Regions from separate parts of the Homo sapiens genome. Here all the other regions are linked to region 1. Evidence: promoter capture Hi-C in human tissues and cell types (Jung and others, 2019). All regions are on one chromosome and are shown on one strand. Each heading gives the region's core, a stretch centred on a gene start or on the middle of the fragment in contact. The rest is flanking DNA. Distances are from core to core; before and after follow the strand shown.

Region 1 (3,324 bases), core at 607-3,106:
TAGAATTTCCAACATTATGTGAAGAAACTAAGGCCAGATAAATGAAGTACCTGTCCTAATGTCAGGCTAGGAAGCAGTAGGACCAAGAATCAAACCCAGCATGGTTCGACTGCAAAGGCTTGCAGGTTCTCCATCCATCTTGGTTGTTGTAAAATGAGTGAATGCACAGATGAATGATCACACCTATGGTGGAACTTCAGGCAGCAGCCTAGGGCTTGGAAAGGTTCAGACTCTGTCTTATCCTCCTACCTGCAAGGCTGACGCTAAGGGTGCAGGAGAATGGGGAAGAGGCAGAATAGCTTATTCAATCCAGGTGGGAGGTGGAGGGGCATGTTCTTAAGACATCCTAGTCACTGCATCATCGGCCCTTAGACCCTTACAGGTGACTCTGTAGGGGCTGGAGTCCCATCTGCTCTTAGTTTTCTCAGTCTTGCTTCTCTGCTCTTCCATTCCATTAAACCAAAGGAAAATCACTTGACTTGCTTCTTTTTTATGTAAAGTAGATAATGACACCCTGTGTGTGTGTTTTGAGTGTGACAGAAGCTGTTCTAAGTGCTTTACAAGAATCTATTAAGAGCTAAGTTATACTGAGAGCTTGACATACATCAGACTATTTGATTAATAAAGCAGAAAAGATGGTTAATCTTTTTTTATAGAAGAAGAAACTGATGCTCAGAGAGGCTATAAATGATGTTCCTGAGGCACAGAGTTTGTAAGTAGAGGAGCCTGGACCAGAACCCAGGTGTGTCTGACTCCAGGAATGCTCATACTGTAAACCACTACATTCTTCTTACTTATGGCAGACATTTTCAAACTTGAGTATGCGTCAGAATCATCTAGAAGGCTTGTTAGAGAGACCCACCTCCACAGTTTCTGATCAGGTGGGACTGGGAACTAGCATGTTTCCAGTTGATACTGCTGCTGCTATTGCTGTCAGACTAGGGGACAAACTCGAGAACCACTCATCTATAAGGTTATTGGGAGGTTTAGAGTTCCATTTATGTCTAAGAATCTATCATTAATAGCTCCATGTACATACATGCAGAGAACTATGCTTGCACATGCAAGAATGTTCACTGGCACATTGACAGTGATAATCTCCAGAGGGTAAGATTTTGATAATTTTTCACCTTCTTTCTTACCCTTTTGTGTATTCTAATATGCATTTTTATACAGGGCATCCTACTGGCTGCTTAAAAATCTTGGAAACTGCTGCCTACCATCCCCATTTCCAGCAGATTATCTTAGCTATAACTGCACTTCATCTCCCCACTTCCATTTGCAGATTCCAAGCTTCCACAGAGAAAGTGGTCCAGGAAGGAGCCTTTTCTGACAAGTGCATCTAACTTGGCTAAGTCCCTCACTCTCAAATTCTGGCTCTGATCTCCTTTTCCCAACCTCTCCTTGCCTGCCACCAGCCCCACCCCAGACATTGAAGGCCCCTTTTCCTGCTTTACTTATTTCATTTTCTATAGCACTTTGATCATCTATCATTTGTATTAGGTATTGTATGTCTCTCTCCCATTAGCATCTTAATTTCACAAAGGCAGGGTCTCAGGCTCTTTGCTTTAACCTCAGCACCTAGGACAGTGCCTGGCACATAACTATGTGCCCAACATATGTCTGATGAAGTGAATTGAACTGAATTGACTCTCAATCCGGTAAGGTAAGAAATGGGCTCTGTTTGTGCTGCATCACCTCCCCCACCACCCCGCCCCCCAGCCTGATTCCCAGTCTATTCTTTGAGATCCCACATTTCATACCAACCTCGTGCTAGTTCTGATCGAAGCTCTAGGCAGAGAGTGAGAATCAGGAGAAACGAGAGAGAGGCCTGAAGCTGCATGGTGCCACTCAGCCAGTGGCTCAGCCTGGGGTTGCCATTTTAGGGAGAAAAGGGACCAAGGGGAGGAGCCTGGCCCCACATCCAGCTCATTCACCTTTAACTCAGGCTTTTCATGGGGCTGGGCTGCCTCAGGAACAGAGTGTTCAGCCAAAGCACAGCTTCACCTCTCTCCTCCTGGCCTTATCTGATCTGGCCACCCAGGCTACTTTAGTACCACTTCAGGGTGGAAGCCTTTTTCACAATAATAAAAAGACAGCAGCCATTTTTGAGTACCTTTCCTTTTCCAGGCACCATGCAAAATAGTTTTCACACATTGCTTCCCTTAAGTCTACACGGGAATCCCACAACACTAACACTCCCATTTTGTAGATGAGAGGAGGTTATGCTACTTTGACCATTGTTACATGGACAGCAAGTTTCAGAGACAAGACTGAGACCCCGGTCTGTCTGCTTCAGTGCCCTCGTATCACTCATTCATTCAACAAACATTCATCAAGTACCCACACTGCACCAGGCAAAGTATTAGATGCTGCCTCCATCCCATCTGGGTGCTCCCAGGAAATTATGGCAACAACACACACAAACACATTGGAAGTCAGAAACAGTCACCTACTTGGAGGAGGAGCAGATTCATTATATTTTAATAGAAATATCAAAAGCACCATGTAGAAGGAGGGCCCAGCTTTGTTTGCTTCAGAGGGTCATGGTCTCTAGAGACACACCCCCAGAATCCAGCACATTCCAACTGTCTCCTTTCCTTGACTCTCTAGAGATCCATTTTTTTTGAAAGACAAAGCCAGCATGCTTTAGGGAGATTTAGTGAGCCTCAGATTTAAAATTTGAGGTTGTGATGGGTCCAGCTATTCTTTTTCAAGAAGCATTCTATCATATATTTATTATTATTTATTTTTAATTGAGAAATAAAAATTGTATAAAGGCAGTCCCCAATTTACAATGGTTTGACTTACAGTGTTTGACTTTATGATGGTGCAAACACAATGCACAGTCAGTAAAAACAGTACTTGGAATACCCATACAACCATTCTGTGTTCACTTTTAGAACAGTATTCAATAAATTACATTAGATATTCAACACTTCATTATAAAAGGGGCTTTGTGTTAGATGATTTTGCCCAACTGTAGACTAGTATAAGTGTTCTGAGCAAGTTTAAGGTAGGTAAGGCTAAGCTATGATGTTTGGTAGGTTAGGTGTATTAAATGCATTTCAACTTCTGATATCTTCAACTTAGGCTAGGTTTATTAGGCTATAATCTCATCATAAGTTGAGAAACATTATATATTTATGAGGTACAATATGATGTTTTGAAATATATGTGTGTATATATATATAGAGAGAGAGAGAAATTTTCTCTCTTAGCAATTTTCAAGTGTACAATATGTTATTAACTACGGTCACCATGCTGTGCAATAGGTCTTTACAACTTATTCCGTCTGTCTAACTGAAATTTTGTACCCTTTGA
Region 2 (3,324 bases), core at 213-2,712, 130 kb before region 1:
GGCCGGGAGCAGTGGTTCATGCCTGTAATCCCAAGTCTCTTGGATGCCACGGTAGGAGGATCACTTGAGGATAGGAGTTGAAGGCTGCAGTAAGCCATGATCGGCACCACTGCACTCCGGCCTGGGCAATAGAGCAAGATGCTGTCTCTTTAAAAAAATTTTTTTTAGTTGACTTTTATTCTGTGACTTAAGATATAGTCTTGGTGAGTGTTCCATAAGCATTTCAAAAGAATGTGAATCTTGTTATTGTTATGTGAAGTATTGTCTAAATATTAATTAGATTCTTTTGATTGATGGCTTTTTAAAGTTCTTATACATCCTTGCTGCTTTCCTGTCTAGTGTTTCTTTTTTTTTTTTTTTGAGACAGAGTCTTGCTCTGTCGTCCAGGGTGGAGTGCAGTGGCACAATCTCGGCTCACTGCAGCCTCCGCCTCCCGGGTTCAAGCAATTCTCCTGCCTTAGCCTCCCGAGTAGCTGGGATTACAGGCGCCCGCCACCACACCCGGCTAATTTTTATATTTAGTAGAGACAGGGTTTCACCATGTTGGCCAGGCTGGTCTTGAACTCCTGACCTTAGGTGATCCACCCGCCTTGGCCTCCCAAAATGTTGGGATTACAGGTGTGAGCCACCATGCCCACCCTTCTGTCTAGTATTTCTATCAAGTGTTGAGAGAGATGTGTTGAAGTCTCCAACTTTAATAGTAGATGTCTATTTTTTTTTTCAGTTCTACCAATTTTTGTTTCATAGATTTTTAAGATCTGTTGTTTGGTATGTACACATGTATGATTGCTATGTCTTCTTTGTGATTTGACCCATTTAATATCTTTTTTTGGCCCTGGTGATTTTCTTTGCTCAGCAGTCTATTTCATCTGATATTGAAATTGCTAACTCTGCTTTCTTTTAATTAATCTTTGTATGGTGTATCTTTTTTCATCCTTTTATGTTCAGTCTACCTATGTCATATTTGAAGTGAGTTTCTTGTAGAGAGCTTATTTTGGGTCATTTTTTTCACTCCGTTTTGCCAGTCTCAGAGTTATAAAGTATATTTATAGACTACCGGCAGTTAATGCAATTATTTGTTAGGGTTTAAGCCTGCCATTTGATTGTTTTCTTTTCATTCCCTCTGCTTTTCATTCTTCTCTTTTATTTCTCTACTCTTCCTATGGGTTAAACAGTTTTTAGAATTCCATTTTTTTTATCTATGGTGAAGTGTTTTTTTTAAGTGTATCTCTTTGTGTAGGTTTTTTAGTGGCTGCTTTCTATATTACATCATACATAACATAATCTATGACCATCTACTGGTATCGACACTTTTGCCACTTTGAGTGAGGGATAGAAGCCTGACCTCTATTTAGGTCCCTTTACCCTTCTCCTTTCATAATGTAATTGTCTTAAATATCTTCATTACATAAATTGAATCCACATCAGACCATGTTATATAATTTCTGTTTTAGCCATCAAACATAATTTAGAAAATGCAAGTGAAGAAGGATAGCCCATCATATTTACCCATATTTTTATTATTTCCATTGTTCTTTCTTCACTCCTGATGTTTCGGGTTTTCTTCTTTCATCATTTCCTTTATGTTTGGAGAACTTCCTTTAGCCATTCTTTCACGGTACAGCAGGTCCTCAAATAATGTTATTTTGTTTAACGTCATTTCTTTATAATGTTGATGAGAAAAAAAAACAACAACTGATTCCCAGCCATGGCCACTGTCTGTGTAGAGTTTGCACATTCTCGTCATGTCTGTGTGGGTTTTCTCTGGGCACTCCAATTTCCTCCCACATCCCAGAGATGTGCACATTAGGTTAATTGGTGTATCTAAATTATCTAAATTATCCAAGTATGAGTGAGGGGTGTGTGTGTGTGTGCGTGCACGCATTCTGTGATGGAATGGCATCCTTTCCAGGGTGCCTTGCACCCTGAGCTGCCAGAATAAGATTCAGCCACCCAGGACCCTGAAATGGAATAAGCAGGTTGGAAATGAAGAATAAGTGAATACAAATTATTGTAAAATAAAAATTTGTAAAGTATATAATAATCATACAAATGCATAACAGTAAATAATTTGGTATAAGAGCACTCAGCCAGCCTGCCATATTTATTATTGTTTTTGAACTGCATGGTGGTAGGAGATACTCCTTACAATTTTTGCTCTGCAAAGATTTATTCCTTGGTTTAACTCACCACCATGATGACTGCTGTCACTCACTGCTTATACTAATCCAGCATGACCTCACTTTAATTACATCACCAATAGGTGAGTAAATAATGAACTTCCCTGTTTTATTAATCTTTCTTAAATGTATGTATAGCTCACATTTATTTTAATGTTTAATACTAGATGTGTCTGGGCATTTATTTAGAAGCGTGGTATTGTTTTTGTGACCAGAAGTATGCTGTATGGACTTACCTTGTTAATATCAATTAGTCTACGATAAACTTGCTTTCATTATACATCATTTTGGTTAAAGTTGCAGTTTCCAAGAAACTATTGATGACATTAAGGACTTACTATAGTTCTTCAGTTAACAAATTATGTTAGTTTTTCCTTCATTTGAGAATGTCTTGACTTTCATACCTGAAGGATTTTTTCACTTTGCTTAGCATTCTGGGTTGACGGTTTTTTCTTTCAGTACTTAAACATATTGTGCCACTTCTTTCTGGCTTTCACAGTTTCTGATGAGAAATCTGCTGCAATTTAAATTGTTGCTGTATTATTGGTAAGGTTAATTTCTCTGCAACTGCTTTCAAGACTTTAGTTTTCAGAAATTTGTTTATGGTGTGTCTTGTATGGATTTCTTTGGTTTATCATGCTTGGGGTTTAGTCAGCTTCTTGAATCCGTGTGTGTATGTCTTTCATCAAATTTGGGACACTTTCAGCTTTATTTCTTTGAACACATTTTTAGCTCCACCTTTTTTTTTTCTCTTCACCTAGGACTCCCATGACACAAATGTTAAATCTTTTGTTATAATCTTCCATGTTCCTGAAGCTTTGTTCTCTCTCTCTCTCTCTCATCTCTAGATCACCTGATCCAGCAGGTGATCTGCCCACGTTGGCCTCCCAAAGTGCTGGGATTATAGGCATGAGCCATCCTGCCTGGCTGAAATCCTCTTTTTATTTGTACTCTTTTTATCCCTGCAAATCTAAGGTGATGTTTTTGGATATATAATCCTTTTTAAAACTTGTGGGTCACTTTGAATCTTATTCAATATTACTCTGTTAGACAAAAGACATGCCCACAGATTTCTTTGCAATAAGCCCTTCTCTACTCTAGGCTTCGGCTGAGATGGCTAAGAGACAACAATCAGCCGTAAGAT
Region 3 (3,324 bases), core at 504-3,003, 94 kb after region 1:
AAAATCTGCTTGAATATTTGCTCCAGCAATTAACCAAACTGGTTCATACATGGGTCTAACTGGGAAGGCAGAACTGGGCACCTCTGCCCATGATTGAGTGGAAACAACTGTTGGGACTGCTGAGGATTGCAATGAGAGAAATTAAGTCATAGGGAGGAAGTTAAAAAAAAATATGCAGAGCCCTCAGGTTGATGTAGCAGTTTATTTGACAAAAGCTTCAGGGTAAAGAGGTCAAGGAAATAGCAGAAAGGTTACCAGCTAGAGCCAGTGGGTGTCCCAAGAAGGAAGTAGGCAGCACTCTTCTTAGACCAGATGGTCATCCTTCAGCCCACAGTAGTGATCGGCCAATAGAATCTAGGGGTTTAGCATTGATTTAAGGGGCTCTCTAGAAGAGAAAAGTTAGTCAAAAGTCAAGAATCCTGGGATAAATCCATTTCTAAAATTAATAGCATCCTAGGCCCCAGATGAAAAAGGACAGCAATTCTTCTGCTAAATCAGAAGTTACCCACTTTTAAGCAATTTCCCCCAAGAAGTTTGCCAACTGAACAGACAGATAGATACCAGGTCTCCTTGGGCCTGGCTGAGAGTAGAGCGCCCATGGAGACGCCCAACTAAGGGGTTAGTAATTGGAACTTTGGATAAAGGAGGGATGTATGAACTGTTGGGTGATATGTTGAGGGAAGCAAAGGGAACTGAATAAGAGTGAAGAAAAAAGTAGAGGACCTCATGTTGGTGTCTTGGTTTATTTTGCAGTGAGGAGCAGCCTAGGTTTGGAGATAGGAGGACATTGTCTTTTGCTGCCTATTTCTTTAACCAGGATTTGGGTGGCTGCGGTCTTTTGAATAGTCGGTAAGGACCAGTGATGAAGCATGCCCAGGCCCTAGCCTTCCCACCCCAACCAACTCACTCGTTGTCTAAGCAGATGTTTCCACAGTAGGTCCAGCAGCATGTATGATTTGGACGTACACAAGTCATTATTTTAGTACACCTTTTCTCACAGTACTTATATGGAGGCTGTACCCAGCACTGCTCAGTTTCTCTTATCATATCTAGAACTGAGATGGAAGAAGTTAGCAGGGTCCGTCTATTCACAACTCAGACAAGAAACCTTTTCTAAGCTTAACAATCCCTTCTGAAACTTGAGCTCCAAGCCACAAAGTATTTCTCTGCCTTCCAAGAAAATCCCTTCCTCAAATTATAACCAGTGTCTTGTCACAAGACCATCCTTGCATGGCCTGTGTTCCTCCATCTACATGTCCCTACAGCATTTCAGACTCTAAAGATAGGACCTGGGACACCCTGACCATATATGACACCAACCACCAAATTTATTCTCATGTAACCTTAGATTTCAGGGCCTGCAATATCCTCTAACTCCAATTTCCAAAGCCAATTTGCAGAGTGGGAAACTGAGCCAAGGGAGAATAGAAACTTACTTTTTTTCCCCTTCTCTTTTTTTTTTTTTTGAGACAGAGTCTTGCCCTGTCGCCCAGGCTGGAGTGCAACGGCATGATCTCAGCTCACTGCAACCTCCACTTCCCGGGTTCAAGCGATTCTCCTGCCTCAGCCTCCTGAGTAGCTGGGATTACAGGAGCACACCACCATGCCTGGCTAATTTTTTGTATCTTAATAGAGACGGGGTTTCACCATGTTGGTTGGGCAGTCTCGAACCCCTGACCTCGTGATCCGCCCACCTCAGCCTCCCAAAGTGCTGGGATTACAGGTGTGAGACGCCGTGCCCAGCCATTTTTCTCCCCTTCTATTTGTTTCCCTGATGATGCCACCTAAGAAGTCAGTCTCTCCATAAATTTTATTTCCCTGGCCCACAACCCTCCTGCTCAGTGTCTTTGTTGTCCACATTTTCTTATCATATGAACCCAAACTTTGACCCACTAAGGAGCCTTTATTTGTCTTTTCCATTTTTCATGTTCTAAAAGACTCTTCCCCTCCAACTAAATTAACGTGTTAAATATTACCCTTTTGGCATTCATCAAAGGCTCACCCAACTGAGGCACAAAGGTTCTGAAAATATGGGCTTGGAGGGAAGCTCTGTGTTGGTTTTTCCTCTACTGGTCTGATATTGGAAAATATTATTTCCTGCTAGCTGATGGAATATAGACAAAAGATACGTTCCCTTTTCACATACCTAGTGTTGCTTTCAGAGCTGAAAGAGAAAACTTAAAGGAATTGGGAATATCTAACCTAATCTTGCTTGAATATCTCTACTTAAGGAGAGATCCTTTAAAGCCTGATTCTTGACATGCAGGCCCTGGATCAGCTACAATAGACATCCCAGGACTGGGCAGAGCACCCCGTCCCTTTTCACACCACCCACAGGGATCTTTGTTCCAGAAGCTTCCCAGCACAGGCAGAAGCATCACAACTCCAGAGATGAACATGACGAGTAGAAGAATCCAGGGCTTCATGGTGCTCTCTGTGTGTATTTGGGTTAAGTTCTGGCAGAAGGCAAGTCTTTTCCCAATACTGCTAGACGTAGAAAATGGATTGAGGAGAACAGGGTAAGCAACAGGGGTAAAGTGCTTATGACTATCATGTTATTCTTTCCCTTTCTAGTACCCAGTAGCATACCAACCAACTCCCAGGCTAGCCAGTGACTTCCCCAGGTTTCTTCTCATCTCATATTACATACCCCTTCCTTTGCAAAATTATTTCTTATTAAAATGAATTTCTCCTGTCTGATTAAAAACAATAAATCCTCAGATTATATAATATGTAAAATTAAAAATACAAAGAGGAAATAAACAAGCATTAGCAATTCCACCATCTAGAGATAATCAATATATGTCTATACTTTTATGTTGTAGTCATTATTTTTATGAAATTGGACACATCAAGTGTCCTGATATTTTATTTTGAAGCATATGAAACATGATGATGTAAAGAAGTTTTAGTGAAGATCCTAAGACAAAAGGCACTAAAGCAATTTAAGAGGGAATTACAGATAGATAACAGGACTTGAGAAAAGATGATGGCCAAGAACTGTTAGGGGACTCAAAACTTTAATGCACTAAGATGGTCCAAAGTTGGAGGAATTGTAGAGAAGATTTTGAAGGAAATTTTATTGGTAAAAAGCTTTGCTCGTGAAAGCCGGAATGCTGCCTCCTAATTCCAAGTTGAGAGAAAAGGTTTTATGAATACGACTCATTGAGCTTGCTATGTGATCCTAGAAGTCTATGGGAACACAGTAGACTTGAATCATGACTGAAGACTTTAAAGGGTGACTTTAAATCTGGCCAAAGCGGCCTGTAGTAGCAGAGAAGAGGGCTCTAATTTGTGAAGTATCTGAACTGCAAATGGCCAGAC
Region 4 (3,324 bases), core at 379-2,878, 76 kb after region 1:
CTGACTTTTTTAAAAAGCTGTGTTTTTATGTTGCCAGCCCCTGGCACCTCTCTGCAATAGGACTGTAAAAGTCTTTTTGTTTTCCACCCACTCTTCATTTTGAAGCCCAGCCAGAATACATACAGTAATCTGAAAATTCCATTACAGGAAAAAACTCTTTCTTTCCATTCTCCTGACACTGGCAGAACCACAATGCCAAGGAGTATCAGCAATTTGGACATCTGAGTAAAGCTGGCAGGAGACTCAGGATTTTACCAGGCTCTGCTGGGGGTAGAAAAGGGTTCCAGATGAGGAGTTTGGAGAATGTGTGACTCGACTCTCACTACCTTATCTGGTTCTGCCTCCTCCACTCCTCTGGCCATCACTCCCTGGGTGGGCACTGGCTTCTCACAAAGTACTTCCTTTTTCTTATAGCTCATACACCTCTCATTGCAGAAATAAATTCTCCACACTTTTTTTTAATTTTTGAAATTTGAAAAATATACATTTGAAAAACAGAAAAGAACAAAGAGAAGTAATGAGATAGTAGTTATTCCTTACCTAGAGATAATAACTGTTGATAATTTACTACGTGTCCAGATTTTTTTACTGTATCAATACATATATCATCTGAATTTATATCTAATCTTTACCTCTACTCATATATAATCTATATATATGTGTTTTTCATCAAATATGCCTCAGATTATACATGCTGTTTCTAACTTTTTTCATTTAATCAAATATTGCAGAAATAATTTATTTTCTATAAAATGATTTTGGGAGCAAGTACTGTTTTCTTTATGTATACTGCACACAAGTGCATAAATCATTAGTGGATTTTTACTACATACATACCCATCTAGACACCACCCAGATTAAGAAAGAGATCATCAGATAATATTCCTCTTCTCTCATCCAAGAAAAGGTCATCGCTATTTTAAATTTTATCACCATCAATTAGACTTGCCTATTTTAAACTTTATATAAATGGAATAATACAGTGTGTATTATTTTGTGTCTGGCTTCTTTTGCTCAACATCATGTTTGGAAAGTCCGTCTATATTGTGGATGTTGTTCATTCAATTTCATTGTTATATAATATTCCATTGAATGAATATAATATTTAATCCATTCCACTTTTGATAGATATTTGGATTGTATCCAAGTTAGAGTCTTATGAATGTTTCTATGACCACTTTTATATATGGCACTGGGCATACATATAGATATTCCTGTTGGGTATATACCTAGAAGTGGAATTTTTGGGTCATAGGATATGCATATGTTCAGTTTTAGGAGATCTGCCAAACAGTTTTCCAAATTGGTTATATCAGTATACATTCTCATCAGCAGAATATGAGACTTCCAGTGATGCTGATTTTTCTGCAACATTTAGGTTTCTTAAAAACTTTTTTTTTTTTTTTAGATGGAGTCTTGCTTTGTTGCCCAGGCTGGAGTGCAGTGGCGTGATCTTGGCTCACTGCAAGCTCCACCTCCCGGGTTCACGCCATTCTCCTGCCTCAGCCTCCCAAGTAGCTGGGACTACAGGCACCCACCACCACACCTGGCTAATTTTTTGTATTTTTAGTAGAGACAGGGTTTCACCGTGTTAGCCAGGATGGTCTCGATCTCCTGACCTCGTGGTGCACCCGCCTCGGCCTCCCAAAGTGCTGGGATTACAGGCATGAGCCACCGCGCCCTGCCTTAAAAAATCTTTTTCATTTTAGCCCTTCTGTTATGTGTGTGTTTTGTGATTTGAATTTGCATTTTCCTGATAACTAATCAAGTTGGGCACCTTTTTATTACCTTTTATTGAACATTTGGATATTGTCTTTTATAAATTGGCTGGTTGAATCTTTTTGCTCATTTTTCAATTTTATGCCCTTTTCTTATTTATTACACATTCTTATATACCCTGGATATGAGTCCCTTGATAAATATGTATATTACAAATATCTTCTCTCACTCTGTAATTTGCTTTTTCACTCTCTTTTATTTTTTAATAAACAGAAATTATTATTTTAATGTAGTTCAATTTATCCATCTTTTCCCCTATGGTTAGTATTTTTGTTTCCCATTTAAGAAGGATTTCCTGCCCCAAAGTTATGAAGATATTCTTCTGTGTTATCTTCTAGCATCTTACGTTATATTTTTGACATTTAAATCTATAGTGTAACTTACAGATTTAAATATATACTTTAATGTATGTTTTTACTTCATTCACTTTTTTCTTTTTATTATTTTCTTCCTTCTAACTTCCACTGTGATTTTTATTTCTTTTTTTTTGTTCTGCCAATTTTTGCTTAATATATTTGATGCCGTATTACTAGATAAATCACATTTCAAACTACTATTTGTTTGTGGTGGATTGACAATTTCATCATCATGAAATGTCCAGTTTTATCTTTAATAATGCTTCTTGCTTTAAAGGCTACTTTGTCTGATATTAACATATTCATACTCACAGTCTTTTGTTAGCATTTGCATAGTATACTTGCTTACATCCTTCAACTTTCAAACCTTAAGGTAGATCTTTCAAACCTTATATTTAAGATAGATGTCTTAAGCTGCATTCGTTTTGTTTATTCACTCTGACAGTCTTTGTCTTTTATTTGTAATATTAGGTCTGTTTGTATTTAATGCAATAAATGATATATTTGGGTTTGTATCAACCAATTACTATGCAATTTCTATTGTCCAACAGCTGTTCTATTTTTCTTTTTATCCTTCTTGCACTTTGGATTAATCAAGCTTTTTTCCTATAATTTCATTAACACTGCCCCCCTCATTGACTTGTTAGTTAGTTATTCTCTTACATTACAAAATTCATCTTGGACTTATTAGGGTATAAAATAAAATTTGCATCCCAGGCAATGCAAAAATTTTCAAACATTTTACCTCCAAGTACTCACATCTTTTGTGTTTTTTTTTAATGTACCATAATTCTACATAAATCTAAATTCCATGGAAATTACTATTGACTGTATAATCAATAGTAACTTAAATAAAGATATCTCGGTTTTGGCCCTGTTGATGTTTTGGGCCATATAATTATTTGTTGTAAAAGGCTGTTCCACGCATTACGGATGTTTAGCAGCATCCTTGGTCTCTATCCACTAGATGTCAGTAGCACCAACCCCCAAGTTGTGACAATTAAAAATGTCTTCAAACATTGCCAAATGTCCCCTAGTGGGCACAATTGTCCTGACTTGGGAACCACAGATTAGATTTACCCACATATTTTCCCTTTCTGTTTTTCTTCATTCCTTCTTCCATTTTCTTGTTCATCATTTGCCTGCATAAATCTCTGATATTTCATTTCTTTTCTTTTCTTTTTTTTTT

The links. Contacts are between HindIII fragments. The study calls those that stand out against the background at their distance.
Region 2: a fragment that was not itself captured here is called in contact with the fragment with the promoter of SPINT3 in region 1 in 2 of the 25 tissues and cell types used here (liver and mesendoderm cells).
Region 3: a contact is called between a fragment that was not itself captured here and the fragment with the promoter of SPINT3 in region 1, in 3 of the 25 tissues and cell types used here (dorsolateral prefrontal cortex, pancreas and spleen).
Region 4: a contact is called between a fragment that was not itself captured here and the fragment with the promoter of SPINT3 in region 1, in 4 of the 25 tissues and cell types used here (liver, mesendoderm cells, neural progenitor cells and 1 more).

Annotation. Positions count from the first base shown.
Region 1 is chr20:45,513,766-45,517,089 of GRCh38, forward strand. It overlaps SPINT3 (serine peptidase inhibitor, Kunitz type 3), which reads right to left and starts at 1,857. Exons shown (of 2, transcript NM_006652.2): 1 at 1,768-1,857. The coding sequence starts at 1,843. The region is part of intron 1 of LOC107987282 (a long non-coding RNA gene); the gene reads left to right. The HindIII fragment of the contact is 13,872 bases long and covers 1-3,324 here.
Region 2 is chr20:45,388,883-45,392,206 of GRCh38, forward strand. The region is part of intron 3 of SYS1-DBNDD2 (SYS1-DBNDD2 readthrough (NMD candidate)); the gene reads left to right. Among named protein-coding and RNA genes, the nearest start is that of TP53TG5, 12 kb to the left of the region's middle. The HindIII fragment of the contact is 5,202 bases long and covers 1-3,324 here.
Region 3 is chr20:45,607,756-45,611,079 of GRCh38, forward strand. It overlaps WFDC9 (WAP four-disulfide core domain 9), which reads right to left. Exons shown (of 5, transcript NM_147198.4): 3 at 2,336-2,484; 4 at 908-1,055; 5 at 184-385. The coding sequence starts at 2,426. The coding sequence ends at 355. Among named protein-coding and RNA genes, the nearest start is that of WFDC10A, 20 kb to the right of the region's middle. The HindIII fragment of the contact is 3,512 bases long and covers 1-3,324 here.
Region 4 is chr20:45,589,636-45,592,959 of GRCh38, forward strand. No RefSeq gene overlaps it. Among named protein-coding and RNA genes, the nearest start is that of WFDC8, 12 kb to the left of the region's middle. The HindIII fragment of the contact is 5,861 bases long and covers 1-3,324 here.